4 separate regions of the Homo sapiens genome follow, and all the other regions are linked to region 2. Evidence: promoter capture Hi-C in 16 types of primary human blood cells and fetal thymus (Javierre and others, 2016). All regions are on one chromosome and are shown on one strand. Each heading gives the region's core, a stretch centred on a gene start or on the middle of the fragment in contact. The rest is flanking DNA. Distances are from core to core; before and after follow the strand shown.

Region 1 (3,620 bases), core at 638-3,137, 730 kb after region 2:
CAGTCTAACTAAAGCCAAGAGAAGAAGAGAAAGGTGTGGTCAAATGTGTTAAATACTGTTAAGAAAAAGAAAAAGAAAGAAACAAAGAAAGAAAGAAAAAGAAAGAAAGGAAAAGAAAAGAGAAAAGAAAAAAAGAAAAGGAAAAGAAAAGTCAGGGAGTGGAAAGATTAAAAGTATCCTTTGGATGTAAACAGCATACACCCTCAGCCTGGAAAAGTGACAGACATTAGACTCCAATCCATGAGAGCAGCCATGTGGGCTATGCCCAACCAAGCCATAGAGATGCAGCTGCCCAAGGTTTTGAGAGCTCACCTCTTGGACCAGTGTGCTCAGGATGTGGGAGGGAGTGGAAAGTGAGGAAGTGGAAAGATTAAAAGAATCCTTTGGATGAAAACAGCACACACCCTCAGCCTGGAGAAGTGACAGACATTAGACTCCAATCCATGAAAGAAGCCATGTGGTCTGTGCCCAACCAAGCCATAGAGATGGGGCTGCCCAAGGCTTCAAGAGCCCACCTCTTGGACCAGTGTGCTCAGTTATGGGACAAGAGTCAAGCGAGATTATTTTACAGCTTTAAGATTTAATGTCTGCCCTTGTAGGTTTCAGACTTGGGTGGGTCCCTTTTTGTTGGTCAATTTGTCCCTTTTAAAATGAAAATATTTACCCAATGTCTGTTCCACCATTGTATCTTAAAAGTAGATAACTTGTTTTTGATCTTACAGGTTCATAGCTATAAGGAATCTGCCTTGAGTCTCGGATAAGATTTTAGACTTTGAGTTGATGTTGAAACTAGTTAAGATTTCTGGGGACTTTGAAAGAGATGATTATATCTTACAATAGAAAAAAGAGGGTGGGCATGGTGGCTTACACCTATAATCCCAGCACTTTCAGAGGCTGAGGCAGGAGAATTGCTTTAGCCCGGGAGTATGAGACAGCTTAGTGAGATCTCACCTCTACAAGTAATAAAAAAAATTACCTGGCCATGGTAATGCATGCCTGTGGTCCCAGCTACTTGGGAGGCTGAGGTGGGACAACTGCTTGAGCCCAGGTGGTTGAGGCTACAGTGAGCCATGATCACGCCTCTGCACTCCAGCCTGGGCAACAGAGTGATACCCCGTCTCAAAAATAAAAATAAAAATAATAAATAAATAAGACAAGATATTTGGGGGGCTAGAAGTGGAGTGATATAGTTTAGATATTTGTCCTTTTCAAATCTCATGTTAAAATGTTATCCCCAATGTTGGAGGTGAGAGGTGTTTGGAACATGAGATAAGATCCCTCATGAATGGCTTGGTGCTATCACGTAATGAGTGACTTCTCACTCTATTAATTAACAGAACAATTAATTATTAAAAAGAGACTGGTATCCCTCCCCTCTCTCTCTCGCCATGTGATATGTCAGCTCCACTTCCCCTTCCATCATGATTAAAAGCTTTCTGAGGTCCTCACCAGAACCAGAGGCTGAAGCCATGCTTCTAGTAAAGCCTGCAAAACTATGAACCAAGTAAACCTCTTTTCTTTATAAATTACCCACCCTCAGGTATCCCTTTATAATAACACAAACAGACTAAGGGAGTGCTCTTATAAAAAGGGCTGCAGGAACTTGTTTACCCCTTCTGCCATGTGAGGAGACAGAGAAAGCATCGTCTATTCAGCAGAGACACTGAATCTGCTGGTGCCTTGATTCTGGACATCTTCCAAAACTGTGAGAAATAAATTCCTGTTGTTTATAAACTACCTAGTCTAAAGGTATTTTGTTATAGCAGCTCAAACAAACTATTAATAAAACAATACTAACATTCACAAATGAGGGCAGCAAATGCTAAGAGTGATGTGAGGAGCAACAGCAAAAAGTGGTGCAAGAGTTCAGAATACTGCTAATCATCCCAGACAAGCACAGAGTTGTACAATCATCCATCACCTTCTAGAACAGTTTCATCATCTCAAAAAGAAACCTTGTGCCCCTTAGCTATCACCTCCCAACTCCCTAGCTTCCCCAGTCCTAAGGAGCCACTAGTCTGCTTCCTCTCTCTATACATTTGCCCACTGTGGACATTCCATATAAACAGAATCATATAACACATGGAATTTTGTGACTGGCTTCTTTCGTTTAGTTTGTTTTTAAGGTTCATTCATACATGTAGCGTATATCAGTACTTCATTCCTTTTTATGGCCAAATAATATTCCATTATATGGATATACCATATTTTGTTTACCCATTCATCAACTGATGGCCATTTGGGTTGTTCCCACCTTTTGGCTATTATGAATAATGCTTCTGTGAATGTTAGTGTATAAGTTTTTGTATAGGATAATTTTTCTAAGAGATGCAAATTTTCATAAAGCTTGTAAATTTACCCAAATCAAAAACATGTTATTCTGAGACAATGTCCTTCAAATTTTTTGTTGTTGTTGTTTGTTTGTTTGTTTTTTAAGAGATAGGGTCTCTCTGTGTACCCAGGCTGGAGTGCAGTAGCCCATTCATAGCTCATTGCAGCTTCCAACTCCTGGGCTCAAGTGATTCTCCTGCCTCAGCCTCCTGAGTAGCTGGGATTGCAGGCATGAGACATTGAGCTCTGCCAAACTTTTTTTTTTTAAATATAAAACATCCTTTTTAAATGAAAGGATGGCAATATCAAAAAGTGGTTTTGTTAATGTGCTTATTAGGTAGAATACTATTTAAAATTTTGCTTTTCTGTTAAATCCAAAAGTCTAAAAAGTGTTGACCGAAGAAAATACAAGATAGCTTCTAAAGAAAACTAAGAGGGTTTTCCCCCTGGAGTTGAAATCACATATTGTAAACAGCAGAAAATGAAATACATAAGCCAAAAGGTAGATCTTGCCAGGCTAAGGAATTTGGGCATTATCCCATAGTCAATAAGTAAATTAATAAAGCTGTTTAAATATAAAATTATTGACTCCAAGATATCACTATATTCAACAAACAATAATTGAGCTACTACTATATAAAAAGCACTGAATTTGGTACTATGAGTGATTCCAAAAAGACTTTTGCCTCTGACACTACCAAAACCACTCCAGATAAAATTCCAAATGACCTAAAATTGCTAAATCCAATTTTTATTTTTCAGTTCTCCTCTTGACCTATCGGTAGCATCTGACGTAAGTAAAACACTCTTCCTTGAAATATTTTCCTTCTTTCTTTTTTTTCTTTTTCTTTTTTTTTTTGAGACAGAGTCTGGCTCTGTTGCCCAGGCTGGAGTGCAGTGGCACGATCTCGCCTCACTGCAACCTCTGCCTCCTGGGTTCAATCGATTCTCCTGCCTCAGCCTCCTCGAGTAGCTGGGATTACAGGCATGTGCCATACGCCTATCTAATTTTTTTGTGTTTTTTACTAGAGACGGGGTTTTGCCATATTGGCCAGGCTGGTCTCAAACTCCGGGCCTCAAGTGATCTGCCTGCCTCAGCCTCCCAAAGTGCTGGGATTACATGCCTGACCAAAATACTTTCTTTACTTGGCTTCTAAGACACCATACTCTTCTGGGTTTTCTTCTTACATTACTAGTGGCTCCTTCGCAGTCTCATATGCTGGTTCTTTCACAGCTCCACAATTTATAAACATTAAGAGTATTCAAGGTTCAGCCCTTGCACCATTTGC
Region 2 (3,757 bases), core at 818-3,317:
ACTCCAGCCTGGGTGACAGAGTGAGACTCTGTCTCAAAAAAAAAAAAAAAATGCAAATTTGCAGCCAGCGCGGTGGCTCACGCCTGAAATCCCAGCACTTTGGGAAGCCGAGGCAGGCGGATCACCTGAGGTCAGGAGTTTGAGCCCAAACTGGCCAATATGGCGAAACCCCGTCTCTACTAAAAATACAAAAATTACCTGAGTATGGTGGCACGCGCCTGTAATCCCAGCTACTCGGGAGGCTGAGGCAGGAGAATCGCTTGAACCTGGGAGGGTACAGTGAGCTAAGATTGCACTACTGCACTCCAGCCTGGACGACAGAGTAAGACTCCATCCCCGCCCCCCACCAAAAAAGCAAAATTTCAGCCCCAATTTACCAATCAGAAAGCTGAGATTAGTTTAACAAGCTCTCCAGGTGATTCTGATACACCCTAAAGTCGGAGAATCACCTTGATAATGGAAAGCAAAGAAGACTTTGGCACAGACAACCAACACACTTGAGCCAACCTTGAGATCCTCTGCCATCTATAAATCACTTTCACAGTCCCTTCTAGGCTAGATGCTAAATTGGTTGCAATCTGGTAATGCACAATGATGAGACACAAGTTGTATCTTGTCTCTGTAATAAGTAAATTGTAAGAACTTCAAAGGCAGGGTTGATTCTACTTTTGGTGTTTTTTCCATTCTTCTCGTATTTCAGATATCAGTGCAATACTTAGAAAATACGGCCGGGCGCGGTGGCTCACGCCTGTAATCCCAGCTACTCGGGAGGCTGAGGCAGGAGAATGGCGTGAACCCGGGAAGCGGAGCTTGCAGTGAGCCGAGATTGCGCCACTGCAGTCCGCAGTCCCACCTGGGCGACAGAGCGAGACTCCGTCTCAAAAAAAAAAAAAAAAAAAAAAAAAAAGAAAATACAAGTACTGAAATTTAAGTAGCTCTTTAGTAAATAAGAATAATTAACCTGGTGCAAGGGTTCTACCTTTATGAGGGAGAAATTGGAAAGCATATATGTACTTACAAATTTTCATAACTTTTCTTATCGTTGTAAAATATACATAAAACTTAGCATTTTAACCCTTTAAAATGATGTACAGGTCAGCAGCATTAAATACATTCACACTGTTGTGCAACCATCACCATTCTCCATTTACAGAACTTTTGCATCTTCCCAAACCGAAACTCCGTACCCATTAATTAATTGGTGCATTTTGCCTTGTTTTTTCTAATAGGATTTTTCTTTCTGTTGATTTGTATGAGCTCATTTTAAATTAGAGAGACCAGCCCTTTGTCTTCTGCCAATTTATTTTTTATTAATTCTATTTGTTGGTGATTTTTTAAAATCTGTTCAGAAAATTAAAAATTTTCCGTGGAATCATAAAATCGTGTTTAGATTATAAAATCCTTTATGATTTGACTGTTGCCGTCTTGAAAGTCTTCAACATCTCAATGTTATGAATATCTGCACTTACATTTTCTTCTAAGTTTTTGTTAACATTTCAATATTTAATCCACAAAAGATTCACTTACATGTATTTTTTCCCCAAATGGGTAATCAGCTCTTCAAACATTATTTACTGGACAGGCCATCCTTCCCCTACTAACGTAAATGTCATCTTTTCATATTAAATTTCTCCATGCGCTGGGTATTTACTCCTACATCTTCCATCTAGTGCTTTTGAGAATTTTCAACACTCTTCCATTACACGCATGTACCATCATTTATTTAATCAATCTTCTATTGGTAGGCATTTGGGACGTTTCCTGCTCTTCCATACTAAACAATGCATAGAATTTTGGACTACATTAAATAATTCTCTGCCTCAGTGGTTCAAGTTGCGTAAATTATGCGTTTACACTTTTCTTCGGATTACTTTTAAAATGACAACCACTATGTTTTGCTGGTCTCAATTACCAGAGAATTGGCAAGAAACCTGACAGCTGGGGCTTAGGATTCCCTGCGCCAGACCTCCGAGCTACACCAGAGGGCGTACTTTCCTTACTCGGCCTCGGCCACATCCGGGTTCCACCGCAGATTCGGGCAGGGAGCGGGCGGAACCTTTCTACCGCGTCTCTAGCTAACACGCACGGCGGGGACAGTTTAGGCCTCCGCGCACCGTTCGCCGGGAGTCTTGCAGTTTGCTTGGTGCAGGGAAGGCGGGCGCGGAGGTTCTATCTGTTTCTTCCTCCTTCGTGAGCAGCATGGACGTGCTAGCGGAGGAGTTTGGGAACCTGACTCCGGAGCAGCTGGCGGCGCCGATCCCGACTGTAGAGGTCAGTGCCAGGCACGCAGGGAGCGTCAGGGACAAGGATGCGCCCTGAGGGGGCGTTGCCCGGAGTGCTCGGGCCGCCAAGGGGGCGGGCTGGCGGTTTGTGCGCATGCGCCGGGCTTCTGCGCATGCCCAGAGCGTCGCGCTTGCGAGTCTTTTTTCCAGAGCCGGCCTCCGCGTGCGCGAGTGAAGGCTGATCCCAGAGGAGCTGTCAGCCGCTGCGGGGGCCGAGAAGCCCCGCTGCTGGCTCTAGGGTTGGAGCTCTTCCAGCATAGGTGTGCGTGGGGAGGACTGACCCTCGCACTTACTGTGGGGGACGTATTGCATGTTTGCAGTCTTACAGAGGACACGGGGCCAGGGAGCTCAGGCCATTTGCATGAGGCACCACAGCCGGCTGTGGGGGTAAAACCAGATCGTCTGAATTCCAAGCTAGTCATCTTTCCTTTTAACTTGAAGTTCCAGTTTGGGTTGCAGGGGAATTTTAAACGCCCTCAATATTTACTAAAGAATTTGCCTGTGTGTTTTCTGGGGGAGAGACTCCACAGCTTTCATCAGCTTCTCGGAAGTTAAGGACAGCTGCCCCACAGCGAGCTGCCCAGTGAAGTGCGGCTGTCGACATATTTTGTTATCTGATAAGGCACATTTTGTAATCTCTCTGAGCCTCAAAATCTACACTGACGTGGAATAGGGAAGTGGAGACGTGGCCGGAGAAGATAGCAAAGGAGAGATTTCAGGGAAAGAGAACAGGATACTTGAAACCTCCTCGGCAAGACCATTGGATGTTTTTGAGGAAGGAAAGTAAATCCAGTAGTATTAGAGTGAAGAAAAATAGAGGAGAAGAGATAAAAGACAGGGTTAAGTAAGGGTCTTGATTATGAAAAGTTTCAATAAACATCTGACAGAGCTTGGACTTTGTCTTGGAGCAGAGCTTTTGAAGGGTTTAAGCAGGAAAGTGACATGATCAGTAAGTCTATCGGATTATAAGAACCTCCTTGGCTAGGCGTGGTGGCCTGTAATACCAGTAGTTTGGGAGGCCAAGGCGGGCGGATCACTTGGGCTCAAGAGTTTGAGAACAGCTTGGGCGACATGGCAAAACCCTGTTTCTACAAATAATACAAAAATTAGCTGGGTGTGGTGGCGTGCACTTGTCCCAGCAACTCAGGAGGCTGAGGTGGAAGGATCACTTGAGCCTGGAAGGTCGAGGCTGCAGTGAGCCGTAATTGTGCTGCTGCACTCCAGCCTGGGTGACTGAGACCTTGTCTCAAGGAAAACAAAACAAAACCTCTTTATAATAGTTTGACAAGTTAAGGAAGTTGAATTAGCAGTTCCAACAGATTCAGTCTATAAGTGCATGCAATAGGCTGCTGATCATCAGGCAAAACTATTTTTTTTTTTTTTTTTTGAGACGGAGTCTAGCTCTGTCGCCCAGGCTGGAGTGCAGTGGTGTAATCTCGGCTGACTGCAACCTCTGCCTCCCGGGTTCAAGCAAT
Region 3 (3,706 bases), core at 532-3,031, 530 kb after region 2:
CTTACAAACTGATTATACTCTAAAAGTTTGTATGTCAGTTAGCTAAAACTTCAGAATACATTTCTCCCTATAAAGAGTTATAAATGATGGTTTAGTTCTCAGGCAGCTACAAATGCCTATTTATTCCCTAATGTACCTGAACACTAGTACCATAGAACTGAACCACCATCTGTATCAGCGCATGGGGAGTGTGCATTCTGAGGTCTAACCCGGGGTGCCAGGAACACACACATCCTCCATCCCAGCATAGAGAATGGGGACTCCCTGAGTAATGGGAGTTCTTTCATGGCCTCTGCTTGGGGTGGGGGAGTCAGCAGCACCCATTTGTACATATAGGTCATTCATACATCACATTTTAAATTGGGGACTGTGTGTGCTGGTGTGTGTGTGAGTTCTACGTTTCTACCATATGTGATCAGTTTAATAGTAACTTTATTTATTTAAAAAAAAGAAACACAATTAGTTACTGTTAAACTGATAAAGGGTGTTTATTTTTACTTTTAGAATTGGTCCTATGAAGAAGTAGAAAGTGAGTCATGCACTAGACAGTGGGCCTAGCTCATCAGTGGCTAAAGTTGAAAAGGGGTTGGTTTCCTGTATATATATGTATGTATATACACACGTACATACATTCATATATATACATATATACATAATGTGCTTAACCACTGCCTTTTAAAACTTTAAATTAAATAAAACATTGGGGTTGATTCAATTTGGCCATCTGTGTGTGTTTCTTTATAGATACATGGGCTAAACAATACTATTTCACAGTTTATGCTTTTTTAAAGTGCTTTTACATCCATGGTCCCACTTCTAATAGCCTTTTTAAGGACAGGTAGAGTACATGGAGGGTTACTGAAAAGGTCATTTATCCAGAAGTTACCTCTCTGGCAAAGCAAAAAAATCAGGAATTACGTCTTAAAGGCCTTTCAGCTGCCAGAGGAGATGTCACAAAGTTTCTTGCAACTTACTTATGGGAGAGATCTTCAAGAATATCACTCTTAGACTCTGAACTGAAATTTGCATACGCTTCCAACATGTTTTATTAGCTGGCTTTGAAGCTCACAAAAGAATGGCAAAGAAAGAGGCTGCTAGATTGAAGGCAGGCATACTGAAAGAAGAAAAAGGCCAACTGAAAACTAGATAGTGAGATGAGAAGAATAAAACTTCAAGACATAGCAAATCTGGGACTGTCTACTTACCAAAGGATACTCTAGTTGACCCAGAAAATGTGTGTACAACAGTATGGCCCGTAGACTACTTCCTATAATGGTGACCCTGAGTTTTTTTAAAAGAAGAAATTAAATCCAGAACGCTTTATAAAAGGGTAGGAAGAAGACAATAGATGTTAGAATTTCATCCAAAATGTTTGAGGGAGAGGTGAGTGACCCAGGTTTTAACCAACAGCAAAAGAAATGGGCAATTCATAATTTTAGATTAAGTGAAAAGTTTAGAAAAAATTTAAGTATTTTTGTTATTCTACAAATGCATTTTTAAAGTATTTTTATAATTTCTATAATCAAATAGCTTTGGCATGCATGTCAGCTTACCTAAATGAAGATGTGTTTAATGAAATGCCATCTTACCAGCTTTCTTTATGCAGAGTAAGTGTTTGAACAGTCCTGTTTCAGTAGCTGTGCTCTTCTGCTTTCAGTGAGTTCTGTTTCATTTTGCATTTCTCTGCACTGGGCACTAAGCTTTGTTTTTGAAAAGAGAGTTTGCGGGGAAGAAGATGAGAGTGTCTTCATCTGGCACACAGAAAGAGAACTAATATCTGTTAAGTGCTTACTACATGCTGGGCTTTTGATGTATGTTATCTCATGTAACCTCACCTTATCGCATATGAAAGATCCTCTCCAGAAAGCTTATGAAAGTTACCCCACGTCACAGCAAGGAAGAGTCCAACTCTGGTGGCCTGACTCCCAGCACCACTCCTTCCTTTTCCCCACAGCACACCTGGGCCCACACTGTGCCTCCTTAGGGCTCTGAAATGCTGGGAACAGAGTGGTGTGAGGAGGGTGGTCATTCTCAGGCCATTTTAAGCAATAACTATTTCAACAGAACTAGTTTAAAGAGGTTTTTAAGCAGGGAAGTGACCTGAAGTGGAAGTATGAGTGGGAAACTTGCATGGTCAGCACTGGATTTCCAATGAAGACCTGGAATCCGTTAGGATAGGCCAGGGACCAAGGCTGCAGGCTGGCCTCTCTGCCCACAACTCTCCTGACCTTGGAAGCAGGGTACGGAGGCGTGTGTCCTAAAATAAAGCATTTGAGCTGCTGCTACAGAGGAACAATCACCAGATATTGTGACCCTTTCAGATGCCCAGTAGTCCTGGGAGGCAGGCAGGGCAGGTGTTATTATCCCTTCTTTATAAATGAGGACACAGAATGAGGCAGTACAAGTGACTCTAAACACCCCCTTAGTGCCACATCAGTCTCGCCACCTCCCAGGACTAGGTGTCACCTGTATTGACCTCTTCCCCTCTGATTATAAAAGTAATATATGTTCATTGTGGAAAGTTTGGAAAATGCAGAAAATAAAATTAATAATTTACCCCAAATCCCACCATCCTGAGATCATCACTGTTAATGTTTTAGTGTATTTCCTTCCTGTATTTTTTCTATGCATATATAATTTATTTTACTACAAGATTGGGATCATGCTGTATTTACAGATTTGTATCCTGCTTTCTTTAACATATTGTGAGCATTTTCCCATGTCAATAAATATTCTTCAAAAAGTAATGGCTATATGATATTCCATTATGTGAATTGTGGCAGACACTGCTAGTTTCCTTCCCAATATTCTTTCTAACAGAAGACATCATGACCACCACGCCCATAAAAAAAAAAAAAAATTTAAAAAGGTGGTGCCTGCTGCCTTTCTAGAAGGCAGCATGAGTTGTTAGTGCTGAAGAGCAGCAGGAACTAGGGGTGGCACCAGGAGGAGCAGGCTTGCTCTGCCACACAGCAACAGTCTCACAGAAGCCTCGGCAGCACAAGTCAGAACAGCTAGAGTAAGTGCCCCGATAACTATAGTTTTTGTCAAGAAGAGTTATTTGAAGGGAGCGAGGGAGCCAGGTGACTTAGAAAAGTGCATTAAAAAAAAAAAAGACGTCAACCATGTTTAGTGTTTAGTCCAGTTATTCGCATTAATTTTCTTGGAGATATTCACTGCAGTTCCAGAAGTGGAGAACACACAGGGTTGGGGAGTGATGTGTGACTCTCAGTTTTGAAAAGCAAGGTAACACGTGTCAGAATAGGTGTGTGATAAGCACGATATGGAGAACAAACTGTTCAAGGAACAAATTATGGGTGAGGAAGGGAGATATTTGTAGCAACTATGAGAAGGTTTAAGGAAAGGGAGAGGTATCTAGAGAGGACTTTAAGTGGTTTGACTCTGAGCACTGTGTTGAGTCCCTGCACCAGGTCTCCAGGTCTAAGAAACATCAAAGAATATCAGAGCAGCCTTTCTTAAAGCGGAGGGGACTGGAGATCATGAAACCTACATGCCCTGAATTGTAGACAATGAACATACTCTCCCGTGCATCTAGAACAGTGTAAGTTATGTAACATTCTGAGAACTGAGAAAATAGTCACTCCAGTCACTTTCTGTGTTCTGTGGTCCAGATGAAACCTGGTTGAAAAAGGCTCTTCTAAGAGAAGAGATCAAAATTATTCTCCAAGGCTTCTGGAGTCAGATT
Region 4 (3,589 bases), core at 25-2,524, 510 kb after region 2:
TTTCCAGGTATTGTATTCCCATCCATTTTTTGCTTGGTTTCTAAAAATGGTCTATTTCTTTGTCTCTCTCACTGAGAGTTACCATAGAACAGCAACTCTGGAAATCCATGTTGATTGGAATAGGGTGGCCCAGGCAGCAGTAGTTCAGATAGCTCTTGGCTACCATGGTTTTTCTACATGTGCCGCTTCTGGATGTGCATTCCTAAACATTTAAACTCTCAAAGCTAAGATAGTAACTACCAGAGCACTGTAATAATTAACCAACTAACCTCCCTGTCTTCAAAAAGATGCTGTGAGTTAGATTCAGTGATTTTGCTGCTGCTTGTATTTTTGTTTTAGCCTGTTTTAGTTTTTGTTTCAAATCATGATGCTTTTATTTTTTCATTTTTGATGTGTAAGTTTGCAATTACGCCTTTTTGGGTTGCTGCTGAAACCAAGAATTCTAAAATGTCATGCACCCAATAAGAAAAAGTGAAAAGAAATAGCTCACATGAAGGATTTTCTGAAAACAGGGACTTGTATTAATTAGGAGTTCTAAAAAAAAAAAAAAAAAAAAAAAAAAACCAAAAAACTCCCCTTCCCCTCTTGCTTCTCACCTCCTTCCCCTTCAAAAATAACCAGTTTTGAAATAATTAAATCAAGTATATACTAATCAGCAACTAGTCATCTTGGAGGAGTTATTAGAAAATAATTCCTTTCATACTTGGCTGAGTCACTCTATTTTCTAGTCATACATTGAGTCACTATCTTCTTTAAGCCATCTTGAATGAATGCTTCTGTGTGTTGGTGGCAGCTGCCACTTAAAGATGCATTTCTTCTGGCCATCCCCTTTTTCACAGTAACTGTGTAAAGGCTAGTATCCCTCAGTCAAAAGAAGGAGCCATTGGAATGGAAAAGCCAGAGAGCCAACCATGAAAGGGAAAGGTGGAACACAGAAACGAGCAGAGATTAAGGGCACAGCAGAGGCTTAGGGGTAGAAATGGACAAGAACAAGAGACTGACATGGGGAGTGTGACAAGTATGGATATTTATCCACGCTGCAGAGTATGATGCTGGTAGTGTGGTAGAAGTTGTTTAGGAGTAAATAGCTTAATTATCTACAAAGCTAATAAGACTAGAACTCAGTAACTTCCAGCTAGCCCTTTTAAATTTTCATCCTTTCTCAAGGTTAGAATTTACAGCTAACTGACTATATTCACAATCTTCAAAAGACATTGTTGCCTCTTTGCAAATTACATTCTCCATACCTTTGTATAGAACAGAAATGTTCCCTCCCAGAAGGGATTAATAGTCACAGAGAAGATACCGATAGGGCAAACCTATAGGAGGCAGAATAAGATCAAAATGAATATATAAAGATAAGATGTGTGCTTGGCCACTTCCAGGAGGAGCTGATGTAGCTAATGAAACACAGGGGTATAAAAACAACAGGATAAGAACCAACAGAGTCAGGCCGGGCACAGTGGCTTATGCCTGTAATCCCAGCACATTGGGAGGCTGAGGCAGGTGGATCACCTGAGGTCGGGAGTTTGAGACCAGCCTGACCAACATGGAGAAACCCTGTCTCTACTGAAAATACAAATTTAGCCGGGTGTGGTGGCACATGCCTGTAATCCCAGCTACTCAGGAGGCTGAGGCAGGAGAATCGCTTGAACCTGGGAGGCGGAGGTTGCGGTGAACCAAGGTCGCACCATTGCACTCCAGCCTGGTCAAACAAGAGCAAAACTCTGTCTCAAAAAAAAAAAAAAAAACAAACCCGACAGAGTCCATCTGGTAGAAACTGGAGAGGAAAGGTTAGCAAGGACCTGAGTAGAACACATTAGTGTGTTAGGACAGTAAACCAGTTGCATAAATTTCATATTCTGACCAACAACATGAGTTTTTAAAGTTTAACACAAATGCCATTTAACTGGGCCATCTACCCTGGATGAGTAAACTCCAGGTAGGGAAATGGAAGACAGGGGAAATAACTGCCTAAGACTACACAGTATAATCCAGATACTTGGCTTACTAATAGAGGAACTACCATTTCATAAGGCATCTCTATCACAGGCACAGAAAACAAAGGTGCTAGGTCCTTCTCCTTTTAATCTCAGGGGAATCCACATATTCTAGAAGCTGCCAACAAATAAATATACAAACGTCAAGTCTGAAATACCCCAGCTTCCACCTGATTTAAACTATGCCTCAAAGAAGATGCCTACTTATCCGGAAGTACCCAGCAGATGCCCAACTGAAGGTGACACTGATTTTTGCATGTTTAAAGCAGAGCAAATATGTCTTATGTTGGCTTTGATGGTATCAATTTTGCCATTAAAGTTGAAGCAAAAGGCAACCTTGAGAATAGTTCAAATCATACAGAATTTTTGCATGACGTGTGTTGGGCGTTTTACATTGTCTGCCTTTGTGTGCTTTCTAACATTTGCTCTCACTAAATACAATCAATGACAAAACTGTATAAAGATCAGCAGTGGGCATTCCAAAGCAGTAATGCAAAGAATGAAGTCATTCTTTATGCGTCTTACATGTCTTTTGTGCTGTGTTCCTCATTAGTCTTAAGTTTCTTCTCTCTTTCCACTTTTTTTTGAGGTAAAAAAAGATGCCATAAAGCCAAAATAGACTAAACTCAGTACAATTCAGGGAACATTTACTAAGCAGCTACTCTGTGCAAGGCATCGTGCTAGGAACCTGAGGAAGATTCAGAGGAGAATGTGACAGTCTCTGCCTTTGGAAAACTCACATTCTAGTGGAAGAAATGACTGTAATCTAGTCTAGAATACAAGGTAGAAGGAAATAATGACAAAATGAGTTCTATGTTGAAATGTAAGCATGCAGGAAAAGGAGTAGTTCATTCTGTCTGGATGATTCAGGGACTGTTTCACAGGAAAGCTAGCATTTGTGCTGATCCTAGAATTTTGATGTATTTAATAGAAAAATGGAAAAATGACCATTCATTCCAGGTGGAGAGAAATTTAATCTTGTTAATAAGTCTTGGATAGTCACATACTACTTATTTCTTCTAAAGAGCTCAGGTTGTTTTATCATTATTTGATTAGTACGTTATCAGATTTATCATTGGGGGAAGCAAGTACCAAAGAATTGCCCAAAGCATTTCCAAGCTAATGACTGATGATAATTCATTTCCTTTTAACAGTTTATAAAACACTTTCACATACATCCTCTTTCTAGTTTCATTTTAAAAAGTGAGACTAGACCTTCATTTTCCAGAACTCAAGACGTTTGCTCTGTCCACTGTACTACGGTGTCTGTCTGTTATAGTAAGTGTTTGCCAGAACACTTCCTCATCACCCTGTCAGCATTGTACTATTGGTTAGTTCCCTCCCTTTCACTCTAGGACGTTCTGCATTCAACCAAGTCGTTATTGTGCTAAGAGTGTACCATAGCTTTGTCTGATTAACTTTCCTTCTCAAAAATGAAATGGTTTTCTCCTGCACCTGAATTGAAAGGCATGTGAGTAAAGGATAGGGTTGGAGGTGATGTGGCCAATGAATGGACACTAGACACTTCCTTTTTTCCATCCATAGGAGAGCAGATGTGAAGGACCTGCACCAGGATGGTGGTTAGCAAC

The links. The method cuts DNA at HindIII sites, captures the fragments that hold promoters and counts their contacts. A CHiCAGO score of 5 or more calls a contact.
Region 1: a fragment that was not itself captured here is called in contact with the fragment with the promoter of POLR3B in region 2 in 2 of 17 cell types (total CD8 T cells and fetal thymus); the score reaches 6.0 in total CD8 T cells.
Region 3: a fragment that was not itself captured here is called in contact with the fragment with the promoter of POLR3B in region 2 in 9 of 17 cell types (megakaryocytes, endothelial precursors, fetal thymus and 6 more); the score reaches 9.4 in megakaryocytes.
Region 4: a contact is called between a fragment that was not itself captured here and the fragment with the promoter of POLR3B in region 2, in 1 of 17 cell types (megakaryocytes). The highest score is 5.6, in megakaryocytes.

The regions. Positions count from the first base shown.
Region 1 is chr12:107,086,918-107,090,537 of GRCh38, forward strand. All of the region lies in intron 1 of CRY1 (cryptochrome circadian regulator 1), which reads right to left. Among named protein-coding and RNA genes, the nearest start is that of CRY1, 4.8 kb to the right of the region's middle. The HindIII fragment of the contact is 914 bases long and covers 1,431-2,344 here.
Region 2 is chr12:106,355,681-106,359,437 of GRCh38, forward strand. It overlaps POLR3B (RNA polymerase III subunit B), which reads left to right and starts at 2,068. Exons shown (of 28, transcript NM_018082.6): 1 at 2,068-2,271. The coding sequence starts at 2,200. The HindIII fragment of the contact is 8,226 bases long and covers 1-3,757 here.
Region 3 is chr12:106,886,570-106,890,275 of GRCh38, forward strand. RIC8B (RIC8 guanine nucleotide exchange factor B) reads left to right here. Exons shown (of 10, transcript NM_001330145.2): 10 at 1-2,747. Among named protein-coding and RNA genes, the nearest start is that of TMEM263-DT, 67 kb to the right of the region's middle. The HindIII fragment of the contact is 167 bases long and covers 1,699-1,865 here.
Region 4 is chr12:106,870,936-106,874,524 of GRCh38, forward strand. RIC8B (RIC8 guanine nucleotide exchange factor B) reads left to right here. Exons shown (of 10, transcript NM_001330145.2): 9 at 1-7. All of the region lies in intron 2 of LOC105369961 (a long non-coding RNA gene), which reads right to left. Among named protein-coding and RNA genes, the nearest start is that of TMEM263-DT, 83 kb to the right of the region's middle. The HindIII fragment of the contact is 6,623 bases long and covers 1-3,589 here.